3 separate regions of the Homo sapiens genome follow, and all the other regions are linked to region 2. Evidence: promoter capture Hi-C in human tissues and cell types (Jung and others, 2019). All regions are on one chromosome and are shown on one strand. The core of a region is centred on a gene start or on the middle of the fragment in contact, and the rest is flanking DNA. Distances in the headings are between cores, read along the strand shown. Region 1 overlaps CLDN11 (claudin 11). Region 2 holds the start of SLC7A14 (solute carrier family 7 member 14). Region 3 overlaps LOC105374211 (a long non-coding RNA gene).

What was found. Contacts are between HindIII fragments. The study calls those that stand out against the background at their distance.
Region 1: a contact is called between a fragment that was not itself captured here and the fragment with the promoter of SLC7A14 in region 2, in 3 of the 25 tissues and cell types used here (mesenchymal stem cells, psoas muscle and thymus).
Region 3: a fragment that was not itself captured here is called in contact with the fragment with the promoter of SLC7A14 in region 2 in 2 of the 25 tissues and cell types used here (H1 embryonic stem cells and pancreas).

What each region holds. Positions count from the first base shown.
Region 1 is chr3:170,432,636-170,436,275 of GRCh38, forward strand. It overlaps CLDN11 (claudin 11), which reads left to right. Exons shown (of 3, transcript NM_005602.6): 3 at 1-2,056. The coding sequence ends at 121. Among named protein-coding and RNA genes, the nearest start is that of MIR6828, 11 kb to the left of the region's middle. The HindIII fragment of the contact is 3,764 bases long and covers 1-3,640 here.
Region 2 is chr3:170,584,179-170,587,581 of GRCh38, forward strand. It overlaps SLC7A14 (solute carrier family 7 member 14), which reads right to left and starts at 1,897. Exons shown (of 8, transcript NM_020949.3): 1 at 1,733-1,897. The region is part of intron 2 of SLC7A14-AS1 (SLC7A14 antisense RNA 1); the gene reads left to right. RefSeq lists a silencer at 382-676. The HindIII fragment of the contact is 10,108 bases long and covers 1-2,817 here.
Region 3 is chr3:170,768,636-170,771,772 of GRCh38, forward strand. It overlaps LOC105374211 (a long non-coding RNA gene), which reads left to right. Exons shown (of 3, transcript XR_924701.2): 1 at 1-290. Among named protein-coding and RNA genes, the nearest start is that of RPL22L1, 100 kb to the right of the region's middle. The HindIII fragment of the contact is 5,790 bases long and covers 1-3,137 here.

The DNA of each region.
Region 1 (3,640 bases), core at 571-3,070, 150 kb before region 2:
CCTCGTGGGTGGCTGTGTCATCCTCTGCTGCGCTGGAGATGCCCAGGCCTTTGGTGAAAACCGTTTCTACTACACTGCGGGCTCTAGCTCCCCGACTCATGCGAAGAGTGCCCACGTATAAGAGGGCTGCCCGGCTGCCCACAGAGGTGCTGTAGATGCTGGGCCCAGGGCCCTAGGTTTGCTCGTCACAGTGTGGGGAAGCCCATTCCTCTGCCAGGCTCTAAAGCCAAAGGTCTAGAAAAGCATCCTGTCTGGCATTTTGTAGTCTTAACTTCTCCCCATTTCCCCCATCTTTTGGTTGCCTTAAAAGAAATCTCTAGCTCAGATAATGCCCAGACATTTTTTTCCCTTGGTGTTGCCCCTATTAGCTCTTTTCTTGGGCATTCTTTTGCTGTTTATTAAAAATATATTATATATATTTTGTTTCTTTAAATTTCAAATGTTTTGCAAACATCACTGAGTTAGGTGGGGGTGGGGAAGAGAAATACAAGATACTTTTTTTTTTTTTTTTTTTTTTTTTTTTTTAAATAGGGCCTCACTCTGTTGCTCAGGCTGGAGTGCGGTGGTGTGATCTCGGCTCATGTAGCCTCAACCTCCCCGGCTCAAGTGATCCTCCTGCCTCAGCCTCCCAAGTAGCTGGGACTACAGGCGTTCACTACTACACCCAGCTAATTTTTAAGTTTTTTATAGAGATGAGGGCTCCCTATGTTGCCCAGGTTGGTCTCGAACTCCTGGACTCAAAGTATCCTCCCGCCTCGGCCTCCCAAAGTGTTGGGATTATAGGAGTGAGCCACCACACCGGCCAAGATGCTTTTCAAACTGATACAGATGACAATGGGAGCCTCATAAAGATGGCTTTTGTTTCTTCCCTTCAAGGTCATTTACTTGTACGAGACAGAAAAAGATAGCATTGGGGACATGGGATGGGGGAGGGAGGGCAATAGTGGAACGAACTTTCCATGGGAAACTTTCCCTTTTGTAAGTTGAGGGCCAGGGGTAGGGATATTTTTTAGTTTGTGATTTTACATTTATCTGTACATACTTTTTCAAGATTGATCATTTTTATAACCATGGTTTTCCTGAAATCCTCAATTCATCAATATGAAGGAAATGAACCACATAGACTTTATGCAATAAATAACAGTGCAAGTGAGTATAACTCTAACTGATGTTCCACAAAACATTTTTGATTTCAGGTTTGTATGATGTAGTTTTTAATCGTACATTTTCATATGCTTCAAACTAACACATTTTTAAAGCTTTCCCCCACTTTTCTCTCTATTTGTATTGTTAGCCATCTTGAAGTGATGTTGTTTAACATAAATTGTACTGTTGAATTTGGCTTTACGGGTGTAAACACTGATGGTATATCAGTATCTGAGACCCCAAACTCTCCAAATACTGATGGTGCATTTTATTCTTGAAGTGAAATCTGTGCAATAAAATAACAGACTGTCTGCAAAACTGGCCTTCAATCTTCTGTTGTATCCAGAGGTATCATTATTGATTTAAAAAAATCTCATTAATCTCTACTGGTAATTTATAGGGAATCTGATCAGTGATTCAAGAACAAGTAATTCTGCATTGCCTTGAATAATTAAAAAGTTATATTTTATTCACGGTATTGCAGTGGTAATTTGTGGTCATGAAAGCATAACCTCAGTGCTCTCTAGGTTTCTTAAGTGGGGTGACTTTATGGCATCTTTAATCATCGATCAATGGGCAGCAATCAGAAACAAAGTTCTCAGCATTATGCAGTTAATGTCCTTCATCTACTTCTAACACTTAGTAAAGGAATTGATTGGCTAGGTATAAAAAGAGAATTAACGAAACCTATTTTATTGGATCTTTAAGTAATAATATCTAAATACATTTCGTTCAAACATACATATGTAGCTGTTTGGACATTTTGGACAAAGACACATTGAGTTGATTTTTATTTGTTTTTCTGTTCCAGAAACTTCATCAAGTTACGGGCCTGGTCTAAGAAAACACATTGCAATCTATTTTGGCAGACTTCTTTCAAATAAAATACTAATTTCATTAGCTGATAGTATAGTAATTGGCAAACATTTCCTCTTTGGAAATACCAATTTGGGCTAGCCATTTTGCAGAAATTTGTGTAGTTTTGATTATAACCTGTTGGAGAGCATTTCTAAATTACTTATACATAAAAGATAATCTTTTTTTTGTTTGTTTTTTTGAGAAGAAGTCTCGGTCTGTTGCCCAGGCTGGAGAGCAGTGGTGCGATCTCGGCTCTCTGCAACCTCCGCCCCTTGGGTTCAAGCGATTCTTGTGCCTCAGCCTCCCAAGTAGCTGGGACTACAGGTATGTGCCACCACACCTGGCTAATTTTTGTATTTTTAGTGGAGACAGGGTTTTGCCATGTTGGCCGGGGTGGTCTGGAACTCCTGGCTTCAAGTGATCCTCCTGCATCAGCCTTCCGAAGTGTTGGAATTATAGGCGTGAGCCACCGTGCCTGGCCATAGAAGACAATTTTTATGTTAACTAAAATATTTGCTTAGCTATTATAATATAGCTTTTGTAAGGATAAAAGTCATGTGACTACATTGGAGGACTCTCCCTACCTCATTAAAAGTTGTCAAGGTATAACGATTATGAACCAGAAGGGAGCAAAAAGCGTTTGAGGGAGTGGACGAGGAGGCTTCAGACCCCATGATCCCTTTCCTCACAACCACCAGCTTGTGTCAGAAGTGTCATTAAGTGGGTCTCCTCTCTTATGGATGTATTGACTCGCCCGCTCCTTCCCTGAGCTGCTGCTTGTTTTCTCTCATAAGGGGGCTGCTGCATGAGCTCCACTTTTCCCTTCCGTGTAAGAAGAGAGACTCCCAAATCGCTCCTAGCTGACCATTCCCTGACTAATGAGGGAATCCCAATTTGGAGGTCATAACTCTAGTGTTAGGTTTAGTATCAGTTTGATGGAGGAGAGGTTGATGTGCCTCTAGAACAGTACTGTCCACTAGGAATACGATGTGAGCTGTTTAAAATTTTCCAGTAGCCACATTTCAAAAGCTAAAAATAAACAAGTGAAATTAATTTATTTTATTTGATCCAGTACATCCAAAATATTATCATTTCAATATGTAATCAATTGATGAGATATTTCACGCCCTTGTTTTTGTATTGTCTTTGGAAGAGCGTGTATTTTACACTTGCAGCACATTTCCATTTACACCAGCCACATTTCAAGTGTTCAGTAGCCACATGTGGCTGGAGGCTTTTGGATTGGACAGCACAACTGTGGAACAACAGGTTCTGTCTCAGTAACCATCGAGAGGATCAGTCTTGATTATCTTATCTGCTGTCATTAGAGTCCCCTGAGAACTTGGCAATTACAATTTATTGAAGAATTTTAATAAATCTTCACCTAGGTGAAGACAATGACCTCCAATCACGTGTAAAATGGCAGGCTTAAAGTACTCTGCGTAAGTAACATGGCAAAGGGAATTTACGCTGTTGAGACCTGTATGTGTTAGGAACGTCATACATTTAATCCTCCCCATGGTCCCCATTTTATAGATGAGGAAAATAGTATGTGGAGAGTTTAAGTTGTCAAGATCATATAGCCACTATATAAACAAAAAGGGATTTAAGACTATGTGACTCTAAAGCCCGAGTT
Region 2 (3,403 bases), core at 647-3,146:
CTTTCCCCATCTTGCCCATAATATAAAAGACTAGCTAAAGAAACAAACATACAGGGCTGCTTAGCGATCTTTATCTAGAGCATGTAAATAACATGCAGTGGGGAAAGAAGGGTTCTAAGAAGAGGAAAAAGCTACAACCATGAAGCCCCTCCTTTGTGTAGCCTAACAATTCTCTGATTCCTGAAAGCCACAGAAATGTTTATTATCAAAACAGCATCCCTAACTGCCTTTCAACACTTTACCGACAGGAAGTCTCACTGCTCAGGTATAGGAAGTAGAACGAGGAAGCTCCCGAAGTTAGCAAAACTGGATCCTGAAGTGACACCCGCTTCCTGCTCTTCCACTCAGGAAAGCCGGGAACCTTTTCCCAAGCGGAGTCCTGGGGAAGCAGAAAACCGGGAAAGGCAAAGCCCCTTCTTCTCCTGTTTCTCTAGGTCGCTTGCTTAGAACCCTTTAGGGTTCTAACGCAGTTTCTGCTCGCAGGGAATGTGGGCCCTGGCGGTATTAGCACCCAGCCTCTGAGAACTTTCAGCACCGCGGACAGCGCCATTCCCTGCACTCAGTCGGAGGAGGAGAGCTACCTTGCCCCCAGCGCTCTCCTAGACCCTATACCTAGGGGGAGGCAGGGTGACATCCTGCGGCCCTTGGGCAATTCGGGCCAGTGACGTTCACCGACACTCAGGCGGGGATCCCTTCGCCAGAGCCAGTTCCTTTGAGTGTCTCCGCTCAAAATCTCAAGGAAACGAGCTTCACACAGGTGGGGGGATGAGGAGTGCCAGAACAGGAGCGAGCCCCGCTGCTCTAGCCTTCCTGCATCTCTTCTCGCCTTTGCTTTGCTCACTCTTCAATCGCAATATAAAATACTCATTTGGGGAGGGGGCAGGGTGACACAGGAGAGAGAAGGAGGGTGGGGGCTGCATCCCGCGTGGCCACGCAGCCCTAACCTGGCCCTCTTGGATTAGAGGGGAGCTGATGTGCTTTGGAATGGGAGAAGAGAGGAGACTGAGGGTTGAAGCAGTGCAGGAGAGCTCCCCTTGCTGGGGCTGCCGGCTCTGGGCAGGGAGCTTCCCTGGACACCGCTCCCGTCACGTCCTCTTCGCCGCTCCCGGGAGAGTCACCACTCTCCGGGGACAGACGCCCCTCGGGGCGCCACCATCCTGGTCGGGGTGCTGGGCTCGGCGGGAGTCCCTTTGAGGAGTTTGCTCCCAGGTAAAAGGGCAGACGTTGCTCCCGACCTCCCCGGAGTCTGCGGCCGGAAAAGCGTCTCCGTTTCATGGTCTCGGTCCGAGGCGGAGAACGGAGCTGCCCGTGCGGGGTGCGCGCCAAGGCGGGGGACAGGACGGGCCCGGCGTCTGCCGAGACCTAGGCTGCCCGCATTCCGCTCGCGGCTCCCCTTCTGCCTCCCGCTCTAGCGGCGCCGGAGCCGCGCTGGCCCCCGCCCCGCCCGGCAGCTCCCGCGAGTCAGAGCCCGGTGCCCCCAGACCGCGGGCAGTCGGGGCCTCATTCCGGGCCAGAGCAGGAAAGAGCCCGACCCACCTCCTCGGTTCTTCCAGGGAACCCCTTCTCGGAGGGCGCCCTGGGCCTCCGCGCCATATTCCTGGTCCCCCGCTCCCGGTGACTCCGGCTCCCTGGGTCATTCCGGGAGAGGCGGCCATCCCAGTTGCAGGGGTCCCGCTGGGGCGCGGGGGGCGCGGAGGGGGACAAACGGCAGCGAAGGGGGCCGTTCACTTACCGGGGTCGGGGCTGGAGGCGACGAGCTGGCTGCCAAGGCTGGTGGCTGGCAGTCCGCACTTACTGCGCGGAGCTGTCTCTCTAGCTGGGATGGGAAGTGGTGGTGGCGGCAAAGGAAGGCAGGAGGCAGCCGCTGCTGCTGAACAGCTCCTCAATTATTCAGATTGGGCCCCCACCCCCCGAACCCCTCCCCGTGCCTGCTCGTCCTCCCTCCAGCTCGCCTGTCTCCGCCTCCTTGGAGTCACATGGCCTGCCCAACCCCTTACATACTGGGCCCAAGCCTGGCACCAGACCACCTCCCACCTGGCCCCCCTGCCTTCCCCTCTGTCTGCCGCTCACAACTCCTCGCTGGCCTTCTGAGCCTCCAGTTGTGACCTCCAGTGTCTTATGTCAGGCTGCAGGGAGGTTGAGGGGGCCGTGGATGGGGGCAGTTCTTTGCCCTGGGAAAGCAGGGACCAGCAGGACTCTGCAATGTCTGTGCGTTGGGAAGGCATCTGCCGCAGCTCTGCCCCTGCTAGACTGGGCTGTCCAGACCTCCTTCCTGCCCTCTGGAAGCTTCCCTCATCCTCTGCGGAGCCTTCGTTGCTCTTAAACTTCCACATCCCTGAGCCCTACAGGAAAGAAAAAATGAGAGAGGTTGATTTCTCCTCTCCTCCTAAAGAAGACAAGACCCACCTCTGTCTTCAAAGCTTAAGTTTATCGTTGGGTTCACAACATCTTATGGGTGCAAAGATCATGGACTTGAGATTTGAAGAGCCATTAGGATTCCAATCTGTATGACCTTGGAGCATTTAACTTTCTAGCTTTTCTTCTCTCGTCTGTGAAATAACCACCTTGCAGTATTGTCATGAGATTGAGAAATCATCATGTTCTTAGAATTGCCTAGCCTAGAGTTGGACAGGTATTTGGAGCTCAATAAAGGAGAGTTCTTTTTCCCCCACCTTTGTTAAAATAAATTTCACAAGGCAAGAAGGATGTGATGTGTGCTAATACAGTGAAAGCATCTTTTAAACATGGAAGGAGGCATCTGTGAGGTCAGGCTAGACAAGTACCAGTCTAAACGGAGACAAGAGTGAGATAAGGTTTCTGTTTTGTATTAGCTCCTTTAAGATGAGTGTCCTAGAGCCAGGTTATGTCCCAAAAGGATTGGGACTAGATGGGACCAACCCAGGCATGCTTGGCCACATCACCGAATGAATTATTTAACAAGCATTGAGTAGACTGATTTGGATGAAAGTTATCTACATAAATTCTTGCACTTTGGCCCAAGCCCTCAAAACACATGGGAGGCAACAAAATGTAACTCTCCTATCCTTGGAAATGAATTCACTGGGCTTGTGTTTGGGGAGAATACTGGCTGACTGATACTCCTCTAGGGTGGAGCAGTTCAAATCTAGCTCTACTTTGTGGGTCTGCCCTGGGCTCTTCCCAGAAAGTTGCTTGATCATTGCCAGGACAGTCTTGGTTAGTCCACCTACCTCAAGCTTGTTACTGCCTTCGATGAGCATCTAAGCCTGACAATATCCCCATATTTTAAGCTTTGAGTAGTTCTGCAGGATATGTTAGACCTCCTGGGATCACCAAGAAGCTGTGAGACATTGTAGGAAAAGTGCAAAGTTAAAAAATCAGAAATTTGGAATCTCAGTGCAGGTTCTGCCAGCTACTTATCATA
Region 3 (3,137 bases), core at 360-2,859, 180 kb after region 2:
ACTCCCCAGCTCCCAGCTCCCTGATTTTTCTTTCTGTTTCTGAGTCAACTGAGCTGGTCAGCCTCCCATGCTGTAAACACCACACAGAGCAGGAAAACAATGAAGCTGCTTATTTAGAAAAGACCTACTTCCCTGCTGAGTGTCACTACATGTCTCTTTTTATGCACTTGAACAGTCTGTTCCTGCGGTTGACTGCTAGGAAGACAGACAAGAGGATGACTGTGAAATGGCCTACTTACAGGGTCTTGGTCCACATATTTATTGACAAAATAAGCCCACCAAAGTCTCAGGTGAGAGCATAAGTGAGCAACAGAGCTGAAATTGACGCCTTGCGCAAAGGTCCAAATCATTAGGACCATTTAGCCAAGTGTGCCTTTATTAGATCATGCCGTGTGACACATTCAGGAAATAAGCATTATCTCTGCCCCAGAAAAAAATACCTGCCATCTTCCTGGACAAAATGAAACCTCAAAGTTACAAGGTAGACACGAAGGAGGGAAAAATTCACCTCCCCTTACTCTTCTCCTTAGGTAGTGCTATTTATTTATTTACTTATTTTCTGTGATGGGGTCTCACTCTGTCACCCAGGCTGGAGTGCAGGGGCGCAATCTCGGCTTACTGCAACCTCCACCTCCCGGGTTCAAGTGATTCTCCTGTCTCAGCCTCCTGAGTAGCTGGGATTACAGGTATGTGCCACTACGCCCTGCTAATTTTTGTATTTTTAGTAGAGATGGGGTTTTGCCATATTGGCCAGGCTTGTCTCGAACTCCTGACCTCAAGTGATCCACCCGCCTCAGCCTCCCAAAGTGTTAGGATTATAGGCATGAGCCACTGCGCTGGGCCAGGCAGTGCTTTTTAAACTGTAGTGAGCATGTCTTCAAAATGCAGAGATTTAGGCCTCACTCCCAGAAGGAGGCAGGTCTAGGGGAGGGCAGGAGGCCTGGGCATGTGCATTTCTAACAAGCACTCTAGGACCATACTGCTCCGTCTCTACTGCTGCCACCAGTTGGCACCTAAAGGGTGCTGCTTATATTGAGGTGTCTCCCCTTCCAGATAAGGCTGGAACATTTAAGCAAGACTGTGCTAAAGGCCTTGTAATGAAAATTAAAAGTAAATAAGCACAGAATAGCTTACAACTAAATAATCTGGTTTACAAGAGGTAGTTTTCCCACCTTTAGTGTGGAGTGCACTGCAGGGAGTCTTCCCAGATGGACTCCAGGCTGTCCATGCAAGATGACATTTTTTACCACCCAGGTGGACATGCCCTCATGTATATGGAGACACCTTGAAATCCGGACCCAGCAGAGAAAAGCTTAGGAGGAGGTTAGAATTCCCTCCCTGGGCTGCCAAGCAGACCACCTTCTGATTTTCACTGTCCTGTCTGTGAAACTACTCATCTCTTTCCTCAGCAACTGATTCTAGAAAAATCTAAATTGGTCAGGGAAAAAGATACAATGCCCTAAATGCTCATGGTTTTACCTCATCCAGTACCATATCTGGATAAACCTCAATTCCAGAAACTAAAAATAGGAGGGAATTTGGGAGGGCTGGTGGTAGCCGGCGTCAGTTCCTCTCAACTCATTCCCAACTAGTCTTGGTGATTTGAGAGGCAGCAGCTTGTGAACTAGGCCAGGTTCGATACTTCAACTTAGGATGTGTTATTCAACCAGTAATTTTTGGAGCACCCGCTATGCCCTAGATCCCATGCTAGGCATTGTAAGTACCATAAAACAATGAACAACACAGACTGCCACCTCTGTCTTCCTGCCTCCCCCAAATCTGCCTCCCTCTGAAAGTGAGGCCTAAATCTCTGCATTTTGAGGACGTGCTCACTACAGTTTGAGAAACAGACTCTGCAGAGAAGACAACTAAAGCAAATCTATATTTCATTGGATGGTTAACAGGCCACATCTGGGCCCACAGAGCATGTTAAACATCGAGGCATTTCCAATAAAAATATAGATTTCTAATGTCTCTTTAAAAATAAGAAAAGATGGCAAAAGTAGGCTTGTAGTCCCAAATGGCAACACTTGCCTGGAGCTGAGACAATGACTGTCTATTTAGAAAAGGATGCACTCTACCATTTGCTACTCTCCTCTACTCTGAATTGTCTCATATAGAGTCAGTTTCACCTGTCTGATTTATCAGTCTTGCACCTGAACGTATTTGAGTTGAAGACTCTTGTGTAGAACTATATAGAAGAGGACCTAGTCTGGAGACATTAGGGATGAATGGGGATTTCCAGGCGATGAGGGGCAGGAAAGGGAGGGTGGGAATGTGAGGCAGCCGAAGCAGCAGATGGAAAGGCTCAGAGATGAGCCTCAGCACAAGGGGACAGGTGTGTTTAAGGAAGGTAAAATGTTGCTCACAGCCAGAGCTCTAAGCGGGAGGTAAGAGATGGAGCTGGAAAGGTTAGGCAAGGAATAAATCATATTTAAAATGTTGGACTTTGGCTGGATGTGGTGCCTCATGCTGTAATCCCAGCACTTTGAGAGGTCAAGGCGGACAAAGCACCTGAGATCAGGAGTTTGAGACCAACCTGGCAAACATGGCGAAACCCCATCTCTACTAAAAATCCAAAAAATTAGCCGGGCATGTTGGGGTGCACCGGTAGTCCCAGCTACTCAAGAGGCTGAGACAGGAGAATCGCTTGAACCCGGGATGCGGAGGTTGCAGTGAGCAGAGATCATACCACTGCACTCCAGTCTGGGCGACAGAGCGAAACTCCATCTCAAAAAAAGAAAAAGAAAAGCTGGACTTTATCCCAAGTTACTCAGAGCAAGACACTGAAGGGTTTCAGCTGGGATAATGACTCTCATCTGATTGGTATTGGAAGGCTACTCAGGCTGCTGTATGGAGAGTGGATTGGAGGAGGCAAGATTGACTTGAGAGCAGATATTTTAGGACATTCATGAGCAGCCTCCCTGTACAGAGGCCATTCAGGAATGCTGAAGGACTGTGCTGCATCTTTTCTTCCTGTGAGTCCCTACACCAAGTGTATAGCAGAATCCTGGACACAGAGCAGGTGCTCGAGGAAGGGTTCTGACTCAGACCTCAGGCAGAAACAATGGCAGAAACGTCTCAGTCCAGTGGTCATCTGTCTTTGCACAAAGAGGATGCTCAGGACTTGCATAGAA